7 separate regions of the Homo sapiens genome follow, and all the other regions are linked to region 4. Evidence: promoter capture Hi-C in 16 types of primary human blood cells and fetal thymus (Javierre and others, 2016). All regions are on one chromosome and are shown on one strand. Each heading gives the region's core, a stretch centred on a gene start or on the middle of the fragment in contact. The rest is flanking DNA. Distances are from core to core; before and after follow the strand shown. Region 1 overlaps CARMIL3 (capping protein regulator and myosin 1 linker 3). Region 2 overlaps NRL (neural retina leucine zipper). Region 3 overlaps CPNE6 (copine 6). Region 4 holds the start of CBLN3 (cerebellin 3 precursor). Region 5 holds the start of FITM1 (fat storage inducing transmembrane protein 1). Region 6 overlaps RNF31 (ring finger protein 31). Region 7 has its middle 8.9 kb from the start of CARMIL3.

What was found. The method cuts DNA at HindIII sites, captures the fragments that hold promoters and counts their contacts. A CHiCAGO score of 5 or more calls a contact.
Region 1: a fragment that was not itself captured here is called in contact with the fragment with the promoter of CBLN3 in region 4 in 3 of 17 cell types (total CD4 T cells, activated CD4 T cells and naive B cells); the score reaches 6.3 in total CD4 T cells.
Region 2: a contact is called between a fragment that was not itself captured here and the fragment with the promoter of CBLN3 in region 4, in 3 of 17 cell types (total CD4 T cells, naive CD4 T cells and activated CD4 T cells). The highest score is 6.2, in total CD4 T cells.
Region 3: a fragment that was not itself captured here is called in contact with the fragment with the promoter of CBLN3 in region 4 in 3 of 17 cell types (total CD8 T cells, naive CD8 T cells and naive B cells); the score reaches 5.8 in total CD8 T cells.
Region 5: a contact is called between the fragment with the promoter of FITM1 here and the fragment with the promoter of CBLN3 in region 4, in 9 of 17 cell types (naive CD8 T cells, neutrophils, non-activated CD4 T cells and 6 more). The highest score is 8.4, in naive CD8 T cells.
Region 6: a contact is called between a fragment that was not itself captured here and the fragment with the promoter of CBLN3 in region 4, in 5 of 17 cell types (neutrophils, non-activated CD4 T cells, naive CD8 T cells and 2 more). The highest score is 6.7, in neutrophils.
Region 7: a fragment that was not itself captured here is called in contact with the fragment with the promoter of CBLN3 in region 4 in 4 of 17 cell types (non-activated CD4 T cells, naive B cells, activated CD4 T cells and 1 more); the score reaches 5.8 in non-activated CD4 T cells.

Annotation. Positions count from the first base shown.
Region 1 is chr14:24,060,293-24,062,992 of GRCh38, reverse strand. CARMIL3 (capping protein regulator and myosin 1 linker 3) reads right to left here. Exons shown (of 40, transcript NM_138360.4): 25 at 2,237-2,365; 26 at 1,953-2,066; 27 at 1,321-1,496; 28 at 426-513; 29 at 147-284. Among named protein-coding and RNA genes, the nearest start is that of CARMIL3, 9.6 kb to the right of the region's middle. The HindIII fragment of the contact is 4,487 bases long and covers 1-2,700 here.
Region 2 is chr14:24,109,687-24,112,386 of GRCh38, reverse strand. The region is part of intron 1 of NRL (neural retina leucine zipper); the gene reads left to right. Among named protein-coding and RNA genes, the nearest start is that of DCAF11, 3.7 kb to the left of the region's middle. The HindIII fragment of the contact is 2,327 bases long and covers 181-2,507 here.
Region 3 is chr14:24,077,668-24,080,367 of GRCh38, reverse strand. It overlaps CPNE6 (copine 6), which reads right to left. Exons shown (of 17, transcript NM_006032.4): 16 at 2,601-2,700; 17 at 2,281-2,480. The coding sequence ends at 2,638. It overlaps NRL (neural retina leucine zipper), which reads left to right. Exons shown (of 3, transcript NM_001354768.3): 3 at 1-1,706. Among named protein-coding and RNA genes, the nearest start is that of CPNE6, 7.5 kb to the right of the region's middle. The HindIII fragment of the contact is 1,349 bases long and covers 662-2,010 here.
Region 4 is chr14:24,428,218-24,430,917 of GRCh38, reverse strand. CBLN3 (cerebellin 3 precursor) reads left to right here and starts at 1,250. Exons shown (of 3, transcript NM_001039771.3): 1 at 1,250-2,163; 2 at 2,513-2,632. The coding sequence starts at 1,864. It overlaps KHNYN (KH and NYN domain containing), which reads right to left and starts at 964. Exons shown (of 8, transcript NM_015299.3): 1 at 799-964; 2 at 1-204. The coding sequence starts at 187. RefSeq lists enhancers at 1-233, 378-557 and a silencer at 588-1,127. The HindIII fragment of the contact is 4,979 bases long and covers 533-2,700 here.
Region 5 is chr14:24,129,396-24,132,095 of GRCh38, reverse strand. It overlaps FITM1 (fat storage inducing transmembrane protein 1), which reads right to left and starts at 1,437. Exons shown (of 2, transcript NM_203402.3): 1 at 267-1,437. The coding sequence starts at 532. The HindIII fragment of the contact is 10,773 bases long and covers 1-2,700 here.
Region 6 is chr14:24,154,647-24,157,346 of GRCh38, reverse strand. RNF31 (ring finger protein 31) reads right to left here. Exons shown (of 21, transcript NM_017999.5): 12 at 2,017-2,190; 13 at 1,835-1,933; 14 at 1,655-1,744; 15 at 1-57. Among named protein-coding and RNA genes, the nearest start is that of IRF9, 5.3 kb to the left of the region's middle. The HindIII fragment of the contact is 7,637 bases long and covers 1-2,700 here.
Region 7 is chr14:24,041,752-24,044,451 of GRCh38, reverse strand. It overlaps the pseudogene DHRS4L1. Among named protein-coding and RNA genes, the nearest start is that of CARMIL3, 8.9 kb to the left of the region's middle. The HindIII fragment of the contact is 635 bases long and covers 1,123-1,757 here.

The DNA of each region.
Region 1 (2,700 bases), core at 194-2,693, 370 kb after region 4:
AGGTTGGGCTGGATTGAGATTGGAGGCAGAAGGCCAGGCACAGTGAGGTGGCCAGGGGAGTACAGATCAGTGGAAGGGGACAGTGTTGTGCAGGTTTAAGGGCAGGGCCCAGGTTATTAAGGAGGAGCAGGGAGCGGGGGGCTCACAATGTTGGTCCCAAGTTCATCATCTGTGGTCTCCTCATGGTCATGGTTCCGGCCTCGGCCCCGGGAGGACAGATCCTGCCCTTGGCCTGGGCACCCTGGTGGATCTGACAGCGTCCTTAGCTGGGTCAGGTGCCGGGCCTGGGGAAGGGCAGGTGTGAACAGAATTCCATGGAAGCTGCCCACCTCCCAGGGCCTTGAAGGGGAGGGTGATTAGGGAGACAGGATAATGTGGGGTGGAGGGCGTGCCCGAGCCAGGCCAGGCTGCAGAAGAAGCCTTACCAGGCTCTTGTGGGAATGGTAGAGCTCTTGCAGGATCTCATCCACTATGGAGCTGGTTAGGTAGGTGACGACTGAGAGCTTCACTTCACTGTGGGCACAGGTGGGGCTACTCAGAACATTAGCACCTCAGTCCCCCGCATGGCCCCTGAGGCACTCCCTCTCCCAGAAGCCTGAGAGAACGGCCAGCTGGCCTGGTCTGTCTGCCCATGGAGCGCATGTGGCTGCTGAAGGAGGCAGCCTAGCCCTTGACACTCATTTCTCCACAAATACACGTCTAGTCCCACCCCAGAGCCCCCAGCCCAACTATGTGTGGGGAAAGAGGAATTCGAGGAGAAGGAGCAAGGGGGCCCTAGGTCAGGCCCCTGGAGCCCCAGTGGAACAGAGCTAGGTAATTGGGGTGCTGAGTAACTAAACCCTGCTAGTTGCTACTGTGAGGGTAGGAAAGACCCTTCCTTGGGCCTAGCTGTTTCATAGGTATGTGTACTAGTTTTCCTTTGGTTTGGTGAGTGGTGGCACCCAGACCCAGAATGAAAGAACTCTAGGGGCAATGAAAACTGGGAGGAAGACAGTGCTTCCATGCACCCAACTCAGGTACTTTTCTTTGTCCATGCCTCCGAGGAGGCCCTGCTATCCCATTCCTGGTGTATTTGTGTGGGTATGTGTGTGTACACCTGTGTGGGCACAAACTTGGCTCCTAAACCCCAGCTCAGCACTTAGATTTCTAGGGCAAAGACCAGCCAGACCCTAAATAGCAAGGTTGCACTTGGTTAAAGATTGATCCTTGTAATGGAGATTGTGCCATTCATTATTCATTGCTGATAGCTCTCCAGTCCTAAGTCCCTAAGTGATCTGGGCCAAATCCAGCTCAGCCCCAGCCCTGCCCTTTGCCTCTCACTCCAGCTTGTTCTGAATGTCCTGTCCTGCTTGCTCCAGCAGTGCCCCTCGGATGAAGTTCCGGGGCACAGTGACACGCTCCGCCACATTGCTCAGCATCTTGTTGTGTCCCTCGGCCACCCGCATGGCCACAGGGCATAACTCCTGTGTCAGGCTGACCATGGACTCCAGGATCACCTAGTATGGGGGAAAGGGAGGCCAGAGGCCCAAGGGGGACAGGATCAGGGCTGGCACCACAGCAGAAGAGACTTTATCTATTCCAGCCCCTCCTGCTGAGACTGAGGGACCTGCCTAAGTCACAAAACTGTTAGTGGCAGAGCCTTGGACACTAAGGCTTCCCCACTTTCTGGTCAGTGCTCCTTCCACCCTACCATACAGACAGGGGCAGTCAGTCCAAGGATCCAAATCCAGAGCAGGGAGGTCAGAGTTCAGGGACCAACATCAAAGCTAGCAGAAAAAAATCCAAGCCTGATATTGCAGCAATGCCTTGGTACAGTGGGAGCGTGGGTGGTCTCAACTCTGCATGTCCTCCTGGCCCTCCAGAAGTCTCCCAGCTCTGACTTTAGCTCTGGGCTTAGGGCCTCAGTCAACACTAGGTTCCCACCATGGATTCCTCCCTCCTCCAGGACTTGCCTGCAGCTCCTTGTCCACAGCTTTGGACACCTCACTTGCTACTGATTCCAGCCTCTGCCGCACAGGCCCATCATTGGCCAGCACGTGGCCCAGCTCATAGAGGCTGGGAAACAGCTGGAGAAGGAAGGGGTTATGATTAGCAGGCCAGAACCAGGACTTGCTAGGTCTCTGGGGTCCCTGGGCTAGGAAGGCAGATGCACAGGGCAGGGCTGTCATGGCTTAGCATGGTCGGCCTTCTTGGGTTCTCCAGACTTCAGGGGAAGGGTAGCCTGTGGAGGGCTCACCGCCCGGGAGTTCTTGGCATCTTTGATGAGGTCCCGAGCGTAGAGTAGCTCATCCTGCACAGGCTCCAGGGGGCATAGTCTCAGGGCCCGCACCTCCTCCTGCACTCGTCCACACAGCCGCTGCAGCATCTGGAGCACAGTGGCAGGGGTGTCAAGGGGACCCCTGCTTCCACATCTTCGCAGGTAGGACCCCTTAGACAGTGCTACTGGTGCTGGCACCGACAGTGGTGGAGGTGATGTCTCTGGCTGGCCTGGTCCCCATTGCTACAGCCTTCTTGAATGCCCAGCTGAGCTCCCAGAGTCCTGTGCACTCCTGCTGTTCGCCCACATATGTTTGAAGCCCATATCCTGCATGTCCTCTCTTTTTGCTTCCCCACATGCTCAGTCCAGTGATAGGCACCATGCAGTGCCTCTTCATGCTCCCCCACTCAATTTTCCATCACATCACACTGTGCCCTGCATGC
Region 2 (2,700 bases), core at 95-2,594, 320 kb after region 4:
TTAGATCCCATTTGTCATCCTCCCTAACTCATTTTATGAGGCCAGCATCATTCTGATACCAAAGCCGGGCAGAGACACAACCAAAAAAGAGAATTTTAGACCAATATCCTTGATGAACATTGATGCAAAAATCCTCAATAAAATACTGGCAAACCGAATCCAGCAGCACATCAAAAAGCTTATCGACCATGATCAAGTGGGCTTCATCCCTGGGATGCAAGGCTGGTTCAATATACGCAAATCAATAAATGTAATCCAGCATATAAACAGAGCCAAAGACAAAAACCACATGATTATCTCAATAGATGCAGAAAAAGCCTTTGACAAAATTCAACAACCCTTCATGCTAAAAACTCTCAATAAATTAGGTATTGATGGGACGTATTTCAAAATAATAAGAGCTATCTATGACAAACCCACAGCCAATATCATACTGAATGGGCAAAAACTGGAAGCATTCCCTTTGAAAACTGGCACAAGACAGGGATGCCCTCTCTCACCGCTCCTATTCAACATAGTGTTGGAAGTTCTGGCCAGGGCAATCAGGCAGGAGAAGGAAATAAAGGGTATTCAATTAGGAAAAGAGGAAGTCAAATTGTCCCTGTTTGCAGACGACATGATTGTTTATCTAGAAAACCCCATCGTCTCAGCCCAAAATCTCCTTAAGCTGATAAGCAACTTCAGCAAAGTCTCAGGACGGAATCATTTTTTAAAAAAATTGGCCGGGCGCGGTGGCTCACGCCTGTAATCCCAGCACTTTGGGAGGCCAAGGCGGGTGGATCACCTGAGGTCAGGAGTTCGAGACCAGCCTGGCCAACATGGTGAAACCCCGTCACTAAAAAAAAAAAAGCCGAGTGTGGTGGCATGCGCTTGTAATCCCAGCCACTCGAGAGGCTGAGGCAAGAGAATCGCTTGAACCCGGGAGGTGGAGGTTGCATTGAGCCGAGATCACGCCACTGCACTCCAGCCTGGGCTACAAAAGCGAAACTCCGTCACACACACACAAAAAACAATCAACCAACCAAACAAAAAACACCTATGCCTCTTCCGGTAGTTGATCTGCTGAAGAATCCTCCTCTAACAGCATTTAGTGCTTAACGCACAAGTGAGCTGGGCACGGTGGCTTACGACTGTAATTCCAGCACTGTGGGAGGCCGAGGAGGAGGATCATTTGTGGCCAGGAGTTCAAGGCCAGCCTGGGCAACATAGTGAGACCCAGTCTACAAAAAGAAAAAAAAAATAGCCGGCCATCGTGGCGCGTGCCTATGGTCCCAACTTACTTGGGAAGGATGAAGGAGGGAATCTTGAGCCTATGAGGTGGAGGCTGCAGTGAGCCATGATTGCTCCACTGTACTCCAGCCTGGGGATAGAGCTAAAGACTGTCTCTAAAAGAAAATCAACAAATGGCTCACTATTGTTCATTGTTTCAAATACAAACTTCCAAACCTGGATGTCTATTTTTAGTAACCTCATTTTTTGATATTTCTGCTAAGCAAATATGCCAATAAATAGCTTGTTTATTTTTACCTCTGCACCTTCCCAGGAGAATTTCTTATTAGAGGGAAGCTGTCTACAAAACTCCCTTCCTCACAGCCTTGCACTTTGACCCAGTAATACTGCTTCCAGAAATCTAGGCCGGACATGCATAAAAATTTATGTTCTACATAGCAATTATTGATAAAAGTGGAACACTGGAAACAAAGATCTAAATATCTTGCAATATGGGATTGTTAAATAAATTATGGTCCATGTAGTATAGACACAGAAATACCAGGTAGCTATTAAAATGGTGTTGTAGTCTTCAATTTTTTTTTAAGGTACCTATTCCTGGTATAGGTTTGTTGTAGCCTTCTATTTTTATACCATAGGAAATTGTGCAAACTACATTGTCAAGTTAAAAAAATAAAGATAATCATTTCTTCTGGTGACATGTAATAGATGCAAAAACGATGTGGTTTCATTTTTTCATTAGAAAGTATAATAGGCGTGGTAGCTCACACCTGTAATCCCAGTACTTTGAGAGGCTGAGGCGGGCAGCTCGCTTGACCACAGGAATTTGAGATCAGCCTGGGCAATGTGACGAAACCCCATCTCTACGAAAAATACAAAAACAAAATTGAGCTGGGCCTGTAGTCTTGGCTACCCAGGATGCTGAGGTGGAAGGATCACCTGAGTCTGGTCAAGGCTGCAGTGAGCCATGATTGCGCCACTGCACTTCATCCAGCCTGGGCGAGAATGAGACCCCGTCTCAAAGAAAAAAAAAAAAAGTATAATAATACCCAGCTCATTACATCATTAAACAAAGTGGGGAGGGCTTGCATGAACTGGTGACAAAGGTGTAGCTTCTACAAAGGATTATGATGAATACAGCTATAGCACCTGAGGTCCAGAAAAACGAACAAAAAACTTCTGTTAAACTTATCTCCTTAACAATTCATTTTTTGATTCTCTTTTCTCTTCTTCTTACAAATTAGTTTAAACCTGAATAAAATCTTTTAATTCAAGCTTTTGTAATATGGAACTTGTACATTATTGAGTAAAACATTTAAAAGTCATGGTAAATGTTAAAATAACTGAGGTTTTATGACAAAATTGAGTCCTTCACATCACATGGGAAAGAATATAAGATTAATCACTGGATTCATTGATTAATTTTTTTGCGTATAAAAGATTTTTTTTTTTTTTTTTTGAGATGGAGTC
Region 3 (2,700 bases), core at 87-2,586, 350 kb after region 4:
GCACAGCCCAGGCGAGGAAGCCTGGCTTCTCTGTGAGCACATACGTGGGTCCTCGGCAGCTCCCTCCAGGCTGTCTGGGCCTCCAGACCTGCACAGGGTGCTCCTGCCACCTCCCACCTCTCTGAGGGCTGAGGTGAGACTTCTCCTGGGATGACAATTTGCTGAGAGAGTGCAGCTTTTGTGAATTAAACTTGAAGTCCAGGCAGAATTCTAATGCAATAAGCTAAATGTTCTTGCAATTTAAGAAGTGTTCATTCTTTATCCCTGCTTCAGGCTACTGTTTGTGTGTCTGTGTGTGGGAGAGGGAGAGAGAGGGAGAGAGAGAGAGAGCAAGAAAAAGGGAAGTCCCCACCTGGAGCTGGGTGGCACATCTGTTATGGAGAGCCAATGGAAATGGGGTGGAGGGGCAGGCATTGGAACAGATGGATCCTCCCCCTCTCACCACCACCACCACCAAACTCAGAAGCCTCAGTGGCCCAGCTCGGCCTGTCAGTGGCTATCCAGGTCTCACAGTTTCCATGGTAACCCAGTCCTCCAGTTCAGCAGGCTAAGGGGAGGGCAGATGGGGCCTCTGGGCAGAGCACAGGCGTTGTGCTGGGAGCAGCCGCCTCACGAGTTACTGTCATCTGTCCTCTACCGGACATAATAAATGGGAGAAGCTTTCGGGCATGGGGGAAGAGGCTCCCATATGTCCCTCTTCCTTTCTACCCCCTCTCTCCACCCCCTCCCCAGCTGTCTCTTCTCTTCCCATCACAGTTCTTGCTCCCTCTTTCCCCTCCTCTATCCCAGCTCATCCCTCCTCCGCTTAGGAGCCTGCAATGGGAGTCCTCTCCTCCATCGCTCTCAGAATTTCTCTCGTCTCCTCTCCCTTCCCCACCATTGGCCACTGGCCATCCTCTCTGGCTCTGGATTCTCTCTCTGAGGGGCTCACAGAACCTTTAGCTTCTCTTTCTTCATCCCCTTCCACACTCATTGTTGAAGGGAGAGGATGGGGCAGGGAGGGTCCTTCCGGGAGCCCAGCTCTTTTTCTCTCACTCTAAATTTCACCTGTGTCTATCCTTGCCTGCCCTGGAGCTGTAATTCAGACCCACTACTTTTCTTGTTCACTTTTCTCACCTGCATGGCACACAAAGACAGACAGAACCATCCATAGACACCTGAGCACACAACTAGGCCACATATACAGTACCATACCTGGGTCTCAAAATGATACTCCTGGGTTACCTGAGTATACTTAAAAAAACAAAGTTGCACACTGTGGTGATTAAGAGTAGTGCTTTAGGTGGGGCGCAGTGGTTCCTGCCTGTAATCCCAACACTTTGGGAGGCCAAGGAGGAAGTTTGAGACCAGCCTGGGCAACATAGCGAGAACCCTGTCACTACAAAAAAATAAAATAAAATAAATTCAGATGTAATGGCATGCACCTGGAGTCCCACCTACCCAGGAGGCTAAGGTGGAAGGATAACTTGAGCCCAGGAGTTCGGGGATGCAGTGAGCCATAATCGTGCCACTGCATTCCAGCCTGGGTGGCAGAGTGAGACCCTGTTTCAAGTTGCAGTTCTACCAGTTTTTTGACCATGGGTGGGTTAAAATCAAGCCTCACTTGATTGTCAGAAAAATGGTGAAAATAATGGTAACCACCTACTGAGAATAAATGCATTTAAATAAGCACTTAGCATAAAGTTGACACATGCTACGTAATGATATTTGCTGTTGTTGCTGATGTGATTGTTAAGTGTGTGAATCTGTGTGTTCATGCACTGCACATCCCTGAGTCCATGAGTGTGACCCATTAAGGCCATGAACAGACACACACATTGACACACCCGGGAAACCAGACTGTATAGGCCTTAGATGCTCCACTATGTTCCCAATTCACTAGCAGACCTGCTGCCCTCCTTCAGTATCCCCCAGCACCTGCTCTTGGCCCGCCCCACAGCTGTGTGGGGGCTGGGGTTCAGCTCCTGGGGGACTCAGCAGGGCCTCTCTGGAGACAGCTATAAGAAAGCTTCAGCCTGCCCTCCTGACAGCCCGTAATTATCCTCCTATCTCCTGTAATTATTCTCCATGGTGCCTAGACCCCCTGGGGTTGGGAGGTGAGGGAGGGGGCTCCTCAGATCCCACTGGCACATAGCTGGGGTAAGACTGCAGAGACAGCAGCCTGCCTGGGGAGCTCTGTCTCAGATTTTGAAAGGTGCTGGTCCTCATTTCTTATGGTGTGTGTGGGGGTGCTGCAGGCTGCCCAGTGGGCATCTGAGGCATGATGGTTAGAGGCTGAGGTGCTAGGAGCAGTTCTCTTTATTAATGGCTAGAAAGTCAGGATCACCCAAGGAAGTCACTGAGGGGCCACAGCATTGAAGGGTATGGGGTTTGGAGAGATAGGAGCAGGACCCACCACTCACGTCCAGAACCCAGGGGGCACACCTGGTCCAAGAGGTGGAGGCATTGGTCACTGGAGTCACGAGGGTCAGGACAGGCACCTGGGAGGGGGTGGGAGAGTCATAAGCACTCTCTTCTACACTACACCCAGCCTAGTTGGGCTCTACCAAGCCCCACTTTGCACCCCCTGTGTCCACTCCTTTGGAAGCCCCAGGACTCACTGAGAGGCTGAGGGAGTGTCGGTCCGGAGGGAGGCAGTCACGGGCTAGGGCTGGGAGTCGTAGCCAGTGTGCAGGGCCTGGGAGCCCCAGGGCTGATGCC
Region 4 (2,700 bases), core at 1-2,500:
CGTTTTCCTTGGGGCCCTCCAGCTGCAGCCAGATGTGGGGGTTGTCCGGACAGTCCTTCGGAAGGACGCTCACCCCCACGCTGAAGATGCGCTCCACATGGGGCTGCTGTTCCCGAACCTTGTTCTCAGCCTCCGCAGACACCGCAAAGCGATCTGGGGACGCGGGGCGGGCCCCCCAGGTAGGCATGGCTGCTGCCCCCAGCCCTGGAAGGGGAGAAGGCAGCTCAGAGCCTCATTGTACCCTCCATCCAAATCCTGGTTCCTGGGACTACACCAGCTATCAACAGGTCGCACCTAGTTAAGGCTCTGGTAAACAGCCCCAGGAGGTGACAAGCATCTGAGTCCACTGGAGGTAGGGAGGGTGTATGTCACGCAGGCCTCTCCGGAGAGGAAGTCCCGGTAAACAAGGCTGTCTATCGAGAGTGGGCGTCTGGGCTTTGGAAAAGGATGACCACAGTCCGGAGCAAGAAGGGTGGGGGGGCTCCAGCTCGGCCTGGAGGCCAGAAGGAGTCTCCTGGGGCACTCTGAAGCTTCTTAAGGACGAATCCTCAGCAGGGGATTGAACTAGGCTGTCCTCTGGGGGCCCTGGTCTGCCATTTCCAAGGTTCAAGCCACTCCCACCCCTCCCCCAGCCGTCCGCTGCCCCTCTCCGTCGGGCCAGGAGCACCGCCCAGGGCCCAGGGGCCGGGCCGGGCCGGGCCCGCCCACCGCGGACTGGGGCAGCCACCCCGGGCCGGGCCTACTCCGCACCGCGGCCCCCGCTCCCCGCTCCCGGGCGCGGTGGAGGGGCGCGCCTACCGCCTCCGCCGCCCGCGCCGGCTTCAGGTCCTCTCAGCGCCCGCCAGGCCCCCGCTTTGCCCGCGCCCCCAGCCCAGGGGACAAGGGCAGGGGGCCCGAATCTGGGCGGGCCTTCCCGGGTTCCTCACCCAGCGGGGACCTCTCTTGTCCACATCGCACGCAAACTGTTTCTTGAGTCACTTCCTGGCCTGGGGCGGAGTCAGCCCAGCTCCTCCCGGCTGCGCGCCCTCCTCCCAACCCCGCCGCCGCGCCCAGAGGCCCCGACGGGCCCGCTCGGCCTAGTCCCCTCGGCGGCTCCAGGGCTCGCCCCTTGCGCTTCTCACCAGCCCTCCCGTCTGTCTCCCGGCCCTCAGGGTCCTCGCGCATTCTGCGCAGTTACTTCTCGGAAAGGGGAACCATGCGTTGAAAGTTGTTTCCCGCGAATAAAGATGTGGCCGACCAAAGAGGCAGCGTGACTGGCCCACTGGTGCTCTAGGCCCAAGCACTTTCCACCAAAGCAATCGTGGCGGAGGGGGTAGGCGGGAGGCGGGAGGCGGAGGGTACCCGTGGTGGAGTACCCCTTTCTTCCAACAAACGGAAAGATGCCACGAAGAAGGGCTGTTGATTTGTGGGGGATTTTGAAGAGAGGAAGAGTAGGAGGAAGGGGTTGAGGGGCTGCCTCTGGCATATGCACACACTCACACATTCTGTCACACCCGTCACACACACATACCATGTTCTCCATCCCCCCAGGTCCAGCCCTCAGTGCTGTCCCATCCAGCAGGGCTGCCCTGAAGCTCTGGCTGCAGCCCTCCCGTCCAGTGGGCAGGCGGCTTCATCCCTCCTTTCTCTCCCAAAGCCCAACTGCTGTCACTGCATGCTCTGCCAAGGAGGAGGGAACTGCAGTGACAGCAGGAGTAAGAGTGGGAGGCAGGACAGAGCTGGGACACAGGTATGGAGAGGGGGTTCAGCGAGCCTAGAGAGGGCAGACGATCAGGGTGCCGGCGGTGAGAATCCAGGGAGAGGAGCGGAAACAGAAGAGGGGCAGAAGACCGGGGCACTTGTGGGTTGCAGAGCCCCTCAGCCATGTTGGGAGCCAAGCCACACTGGCTACCAGGTCCCCTACACAGTCCCGGGCTGCCCTTGGTTCTGGTGCTTCTGGCCCTGGGGGCCGGGTGGGCCCAGGAGGGGTCAGAGCCCGTCCTGCTGGAGGGGGAGTGCCTGGTGGTCTGTGAGCCTGGCCGAGCTGCTGCAGGGGGGCCCGGGGGAGCAGCCCTGGGAGAGGCACCCCCTGGGCGAGTGGCATTTGCTGCGGTCCGAAGCCACCACCATGAGCCAGCAGGGGAAACCGGCAATGGCACCAGTGGGGCCATCTACTTCGACCAGGTAATCCCCCTACCCCTGTCCAGGGGACCTGGAAAGACCCTGCAAGGACCTGGAAGCAACTGTCCAAGCCCACTTTGCTGTCTCTGAGGCTTTAAGAAAACAGCTTCCTACATCTTTCACTAATCTGGCCTATTGCCCCACCACCCCACCGACGGTTTCCCCTCCCTCCACCCATACGCAGCCCTCTCCTTGCCCCTTCTCACCATTTCTTTTGAATCTGTTCACTCCTATTCACTCCTACTTGCCACTCCTTCTATTCATTACTCACTGCCCCTGCCCCTAGTCCCCATGGTACCCCTGAGCCATGGGCATTTCCTGAGCCCCACTCAGCAGGCTCTGCTTCCCCCAGGTCCTGGTGAACGAGGGCGGTGGCTTTGACCGGGCCTCTGGCTCCTTCGTAGCCCCTGTCCGGGGTGTCTACAGCTTCCGGTTCCATGTGGTGAAGGTGTACAACCGCCAAACTGTCCAGGTGACCTCAGCACTGGCCCCCATCCCCGGCTCAGGAGGGTGGGGAGGGGGAAGAAGGGGAGCCCAGCT
Region 5 (2,700 bases), core at 188-2,687, 300 kb after region 4:
CGTGCCCTTTACAGCCCCCAGTCATTTAACCTTTGCTATCTCCTTGGAAGACAATTCAGCATTCCAGGGTCCATATTTCCTCTTTAGTCCTGTTCCCAACTTCCCCTGTACCCCAGGGCTCTGTTCCCTTCCCCCTCCCCCGACCTTTTCCTCAACCTCCTAGCCTATTTTTAGTGTTCAGACTGGCAGGAGGACAGAAGCCTGGAGAAGGGAGCTAGGATCCCAGAGTGCAGGGACCCGGCTCCCACAGCCTTGAGTGGACTCACATGTTGAAGAAGTTGCCGTGGCTGGCGAAGATAGTCCGAGGGTTGACATGGAACTGCAGAAGCGGCCCAAAGATGACCACTGCTGCCAGCCAGGCATGGTAGAGGCGCCGTAAGCAGGGGCTGCCCAGAAGGCGGGCGGCCTGTTCGCTTCCAAAGTACAGCAAGGCAGAGGCCACCCAGAGCAGCACCTTGAGCAGGCAGCCCAGCAGTGCCTGGATTCGGGCCCCGGCCCCCAGTCCTGCCCCCACCACCGGCCCCCGCTCCATGTTCCCTCCCCTCCCCACTAACTGCTTGCTTTGCTGGGCAGCTGAGGAGGGGCTGATGGGGCCCCCCCTGGACAAGGATAGGCAGTGACAGGTGTGGCAGACACAAGGCAGAGCCCTGTTGGCAGCTGGCAGGTGGGGGAGAGGGGCGGGGGGCAGTAAGGGGCCAGGGTGGAGGTCTGCCACGTCAGCAGGGTCCTGGCCTCGGGTGTGTGGTAGTATGTGTCCTGACAGCAGTCTGTGTCCTTTCCTGTTAGTCCTGTGTCCTTGGCTCCGACCATGTTCCAGTTCCTGTGACAGGGCCAGCTGTTCAGGGCTGTCCTTGTCCATAGTCTGCCAAAGTCCCTCTCCACCCACCCCTACTTTACCATTTGCTCCACAGGGAAATCAGAGGTCATGGAGATAAAAATAACCAAACCTTGAAAGTCGTTTTTTAAAAAAAGCTGCCAGTCTTATCAGTGTGATCTAGCCCTTCTCCTGGGGTTCTGAGCACAAGAGCCCACCAACAGCAGGATGCAGCAAGGTGGCTGTGCACAGCACTGTGGCCATCATAGGCCTTGGGAGGCAGATCAGCATGGGTATCCACTTCAGTGCCCTGTGACCCCAGCAGCTTGGCTCTGCCCTAGTTCCTGTCTGGATTGAGGGTCTCTAAGGGACTAGTTTGGCCCAGGGCTGCTGTATAAACTGGCGGTTTCATCTGTTGATCACGTTGACCCTCAGATCCCTAAAGATTAGGTTTACTCCCAGGTGACAGAGGTAGAGGAGACCCTAAAAGGGCAATTGCCAGACAGGAGTCAATTGAAACCTTAAGTTCCATCCTCCAACCAACTACCCTGGGCCTCAGGGCTCTCCATATAAGCCTGCCCTCCCAGTCTGACTGCTGAGGCGGCGACAGCAGGGCAGTCAGCTACCTATCCACGGAGAGTGCCTGTTAGTCAGTAACTGTTTCGAGATCACTTTTTCTTTCTTCCTCATTCCTCAAAACCAGTGGTGGGATTTCAGAGCACAGCGGAAGTAGTGAAAGGAATGAGCAAGCAAGGACACCTGAGTTCTGGGCCCAACTGTGTGACTTTAGGAAAATCAATGAACCCTCTTCAGTCCTCAGTAAATCAATTTCCTTTATAAACTGATCAAGACAGATTGGATAATCAATCAGATTCCTTCCAGATCCTAAAGCCCATACCTTGGAATAGTGACCTTCAATGAACCCTATAAAAGAATTTTGAACTAGGCTGGGCATGGTGGTTCACGCCTATAATCCCAGCAGTTTGGGAGGCTGAGGTGGATGGATCGCCTGAGGCCAGCCTGGCCAACATAGTGAAACCCCGTCTCTACTGAAAATAAAAAAATTAGCTGGGCACGGTGGCGGGCGCCTGTAATCCCAGCTATTCTGGAGGCTGAGGCAGGAGAATCGCTTGAACACGGGAGGCGGAGGTTGCAGTGAGCCGAGATTGTGCCATTGCACTCCAGCCTGAGCAACAACAGCAAGACTCCGTCTTAAAAAAAAAAATTCTTTCCACTCATTTTTATTTATTAAAGTTTTATGATTTATTTTTTTGAGACAGTGTCTCACGCTTGCCCAGGCTGGAATGCAGTGTGCTATCACGGCTCACTGCAGCCTCAAACTCCTGGGCTCAAGTGATCATCTGCCCTAGCCTCCTGAGTAGCTAGAACTACAGGAATGCATCACCATGGTTGGTTATTTTTTATTTTTTGGCCAGGTGTGGTAGCTCATGCCTGTAATCCCAGCACTTTGGGACCAGCCTGAGGAGCCACAGGAGTTCGGGACCACCTTGAGCTGGTCTCACACAGTGAGACGCCGTCCCTACAAAAATTAAAAAAATTAGCTGGGCATAGTGGCACGTGCCTGTAATTCCAGCTACTTGGGAGGCCGAAATGGGAGGATCACTTGGGCCCAGGAGGTTGACATTGCAGTGAGCCGTGATGGCACTATTGCACTCCAAGCCTAAGCAACAGAGTGAGACCTTGTTTCAATATTTATTTTGTAGAGACAAAGTCTCACTAAGTTGACCAGGCTGGTCTTGAACTCCTGGCCTCAGGTGATCTTCCTGCCTTGGCCTCCCAGAGTGGTGGGATTACAGGCATGAGCTACCATGCCTGGTCTCATTGTGGTTTTAAATAGTTGCAAAGGACATAATTTCTAGTGTATC
Region 6 (2,700 bases), core at 1-2,500, 270 kb after region 4:
CATGCGTTTCCAGTTCTGGAAGTCCTCACAGCTCCGACCTCGGTGCTGCTCCTCCCACTGCCAGAGGGAAAGTAGGCTTCACATGGGAGCTCTATCCCATCCCCTGGCCTTTCTTGCTGGCCCCTCCACTCACATCCAGTGGTTCCCCAGCTTGGTTTATGTCACTGCCACCTACCATTTGCTCAGATCTCAAAATGAGAGGCCATCCTTGGTCCTTTCATTTTCTCCTACCACCTCACACTACTTTTGCCTTGTTTCCACCCCACAGACCATCTCAACCATATCCCCTTTTCCTTCATCCCTACTGCTACCACTTTACTCCAGGCCACCATCAGACCTTGCCTCAATTGCTTGCCTCGGTTACTAGTCTCTCTGTTTCCCATTCCTGCTCCCCTAGGGTCAATTCTCCCCATGGCTGTCAAAAGTCCTTCAAAACTGTAAGTCAGGTAGCTTCCACAGGATTGGTGGTGTTTTGGTTCTGTGGTAGTCTCAGGTGTTCACTTTATTTCAGACATGATGCAGATGAAATTTTTTTCGTATCAAATATTACACTTCTTTTTTTTTTTTTGAGATGGAGTCTCGCTCTGTCACCCAGGCTGGAGTGCAATGGCGTGATCTTGGCTCACTGCAGCCTCCACCTCCTGGGTTCAAGCGATTCTCCTGCCTCAGCCTCCAGAGTAGTTGGGATTACAGGCACATGCCACCACACCCGGCTAATTTTTGTATTTTTAGTAGAGACGGGGTTTCACCATATTGGGAGGCTGGTCTTGAACTCCCAACCTCAAGTGATCCACCCACCATGGCCTCCCAAAGTGCTGGGATTACAGGCGGAAGCCACCATGCCTAGCCAAATATTACACTTCTTAAAAGATAAATGTGGCTGGGCATAGTGGCTCATGCCTGTAATCCCAGTACTTTGGAAGGCTGAGGCGAGGGATCACTTGAGACCAGGAGTTGGAGGCTGCAGTGAGCTGTGACTGCACCAGTGGACCCCAGCCTGGGTGACAGTGAGTTGTCTCTAAAAATAAATAAATAAATAAATAAACGAAAGATAAATGAGATAGTATCACCCTTGCTTTATCTCAGAATGAAGGCAGACGGACGCCTGCTTCACGTGGCCTCCAGGGCTCTACAGACCTGGCAGCTGGCTTCTCTCTGACCACCTGCCATTCCCGCCTTGCTTTCCAGGCTCCAGCCATACAACACTTTTTTCTGATTCTGGCCTTTCCATGTGTTGTTCTTTCTCTCCCAAATGCTCTTTGCATGGCTGGCTTCTTTTTAATGTTTAGGCCTGAGCTTAAACCATTTTAGAGAAGACTTGTCTGACCTCTCTACCCTAAGTAGGTCCACTCTGTTACCCTGATCTCAGGTTCCTGTTTGTTTTCTTCATAGAATTTATGCCTATGTATAATTAGTTCCTCTGGCTTACTTTCTTTCCTTCCTTCCTTCCTCCTCCCCTTTCCTTTCCCTCCCGATTTCCTCCCTCCCTCTGCTTCCCTTTCTCCTTGTGCCTAGTCTTTCTGAGTAGTCTGTAAGCTCTTTTGACCTCAGAGCTCATGTCTGTTTTGCTCTCCAGTACACAAACTCCCCTGAGTCTAACACAGTACCTGGCAGTAGCTCAGCAAGTATTTCTGAAAGGATGAATGTGCCTCACCTGGCGCTTGCAGCGCACACAGAAGGTCTGGTGACACTGGGGACAAGTTGCCTCCAGCTGCTCACGCTCATATATGAAGCCAAAGGAGCACTGGAAGTGCAAGAGCATAAAGTTATCAAAGGCCTGACCTGGAACCATCCCCTGCCCCTCCACAGTAGCTGCCCTGGGCAGGCCACTTACCTGGGCACACCACAAGAACTTGGGGTCCCGCATCAGCACACCCTCGGTCAGCTTCTTATGGAACAACGCATAGGCATCTGGCTCTAGGCTCTCGCGAAGCTGGGGACAGGATGCAGAGGTGGTGGGTGGGAGGGTCCCTGTTCAAAGCTCAGGGTACCTGAGTCCTAGAGGGGCTGCAGTACCTGGATGTCAAGGGTAGAGAAGTAGCTGAGCAACTGTGTGTCATCGGTGAGGTCGGGGCGGCCACAGGCAGGGCACACCATGTCTGTGATGTGCTTCTCCTTCAAGGCGATGGTGAAGTGCTGGCGGAAGCAGTCAGGACAGATGGTGCACTCACAGGAAGTCAGGGCCTGCATCTGGAGGGTGAGGGGTTGGAGGGGAGGGGGTCAGAAGCCACAGCTGCCAGGCTAGGGAAGAGGCAGTGGCCAGGTGTCCACTAAGAAATCAGGGTCTAATTAACAACTGGGCAGGGTTAACAACCTCAAGTGCCAGCAGGGGCCAGGCAGGCAACGTAAACATCTGAAGACAGTCGGGTGGAGGAAAATAGACAATGGTGACACCTAAGGTAAAGGCAAAAGTGCCTATAAAAACATTCATATTCCATTAAATATACAAATAACATGCTTGAAATGACAAAACTATAGAGGTGGAGAACAGCTTCATGGTTGCCAGGTGACTAGAAGTGGGGGCAGAAGGGTATAACTAAAGAGGTACATGAGAGAGTTCCTTTGTGGTGATGAAACAATCTGTATCTTGATTATGGTGGTGGTTATATGCATCCATACGTGGGACAGAACTGCATAGAACCACACATACACACAGCGGCATATCCATGAGAAAAATGAACAAGACCTGTAGTATAGCTA
Region 7 (2,700 bases), core at 191-2,690, 390 kb after region 4:
AAATTAGCCGGGCATGGTGGCACATGCCTGTAGTCCCAGGTACTTGGCAGGCTGAGGCACAAGAATCGCTTGAACCTGGGAGGCGGGGGTTGCAGTGAGCTAGATCGCAGCACTGCACTCCAGCCTCGATGACACAGCGAGGAAAAAAAAAAAAAGAGGGACAAAGCTTAACAATAAAAAACTAGCTCACTGAAGAACATTTTGGCACTTTGGTCTTTATGTGTATGAAACACTGGTAAATAAATCATAGTGTTTTCACATCCTGATACTTTAGTGTTGAGAAATGTTTGATGACATCTGATATAGTTGGTATGTTTGTCCCCTCTAAGTCCCATGTTGAAATGTGATCACCAGTGTTCAAGGTGGAACCTGGTGTGAGGTGTTTGGGTCATGGGGTGGATCCCTTATGAATGGCTTGGTGCTCTCCTGGTGGCAATTAGTGAGCTCTCACTCTATTAGTTCATGCCAGAGCTAGTTGTTTAAAAGCCTGGTATCTCACTTCCTCTCTTGCCATGTAACGCGCCTGCTCCCTTTTGCCTTCTGCTATGATTGTAAGCTTCCTGAGGCCTCATCAGAAGCAGATACTGGCACCATGCTTCTTCTGCAGTCTGCAGAAGTGTAAACCAAAACAACCCTCTTTTCTTTTCTTTTTTTTTTTTTTTTGAGACGGAGTCTCGCTCTGTCACCCAGGCTGGAGTGCAGTGGCGCAATCTCGGCTCACTGCAAGCTCCGCCTCCCGGGTTCACACCATTCTCCTGCCTCAGCCTCCCAAGTAGCTGAGACTACAGGTGCCCGCCACCACACCCGGCTGATTTTTTGTATTTTTAGTAGAGACGGGCTTTCACCATGTTAGCCAAGATGGTCTCGATCTCCTGACCTCGTGATCTGCCCGCCTCGACCTCCCAAAGTGTTGGGATTACAGGCGTTAGCCACCGCGCCCGGCCACAACCCTCTTTTTCTTTATAAATTGCCCAGCTCAGGTATTCCTTTATAGCAACGCAAAACAGACTAATACAACATCAGAGTAAAAAGCAAAACCATGGGAGATCATAAAAAATTAGCATTTCCAAATCGTGGGACTATTAACCTTAGTATACAAAGACAAATATTTTAATTAAAGCTTTGTAATTAAAGAATGTGTGTGAAATATATTACGAATGTAATGTAATTATATACTTACACATAAAACCCAATATTGTACCACTTGAATATAGACATCTGGATCTCAGATTTTCTTGACATTGCAGTTAGGAAGAAAATAATATAGGTTTTTATTTTTACTTTTTTAAAGGATGTATATTATAAAGTGGCAACTGGTTATTTCACCAGAATTAGTATTTTACTTAACTAGCAGCTTTTAATATTTCCCAGCTAATGAAAAATGATTCCTTTTTGGCAGCTGAAAGGGGGACAGTTGGGTGTGTAAGTTTAAGTGTCATAGTTGTTGGCATATTAGCTGCCACGTCTCTGTTGGAAATCAACCAGGTAGCAGAGCATGCCGGGAAGAAGGCTGGGGAGGGGAGCAGACGGTGGATAGTGAAGGGCAGATGGAAGCAGACAGAAGTAGGAGCAGCAGAAACGAATGAGAAGGGCAGGGACAGAGGAAGCTGCCCCCACCCGCCCTTTACCAGGTGTGCTCCAGGTGTGTGGCATGTGGCAAAGACTCCTCACATTTACACTGCACTTGATAAACACATTCTAAAAGCAGACGGAGTTTGTTATCGATAGTGATAGGATATCAATAACTCCATGAAGCTTCATAGCCTAGGGAGAGGGGTAAGGTCTGGACCAGGGCTGCAGTAAGTAAGGGAGGTGCATTTATTCACGTTGATAAAAACTTCCTTCTGGGCGGGGCGTGGTGGCTCACGCCGGGAATCATGGCACTTTGGGAGGTCACGGTGGGAGGACCACTTGAACTGAGCAGTTTGAGAGAAGCCTGGGCAACATAGGGAGACCTTATCCCTATATTTAAAAAAACAACAACAATGACAACAACAACAACAACAAATCTTCCTTCTTAGGAACTATCGTCAAAATAACTTCTATTTCTTAAAACATCTTTTTTGAAAACTACCCTAAGATCTGCTGCTAACCATTTAAGGTTGGCTTCTTTCTTTTTTTAGATGGAGTCTTCCTCTGTCACCCAGGCTGGAGTTCAGTGGCATGATCCCAGCTCACTGCAGCCTTGACCTACTGGGTTCAAGCCATCCTCCTGCCTCAGCCCCCCAAGTAGCTGAGAATACAGGTGCGTGCCATCACACCTGGGCAATTTTTGTACTTTTTGTAGAGACAGGGTCTTGCCATGTTGCCCAGGCTGGTCTGGAACTCCTGAGCTAAAGCCATCCGCCTGCCTCGGCCTCTCAAAGTGTTACAGGTGTGAGCCACCAGGAAGTTGGCCTTATTTCTTTTGCAGTGTTTTCTTCCCACCTCCTATTCTTCTAAGGCTGTCTCTGACCCTATGCTCTTTTCTTTACATTTTCCCATTTGGGAGCTCCTTCATTCTCGTGATTTCAAATCTCACCCCAAAATCTATTTCCAGACCCCTCCTCTTCCTTTCACACTGAGTTCCACCCACATTTCTCCAAGTGCTTACTGTCCAGTTCTTCTTGAATAAGTTACCATTATTTCAAAGTCAATCTGGCCACACTTACCTGAATGGAAAAACTGGCTTAAATAGAGCTGTAGAAAGTTACCCTGGAG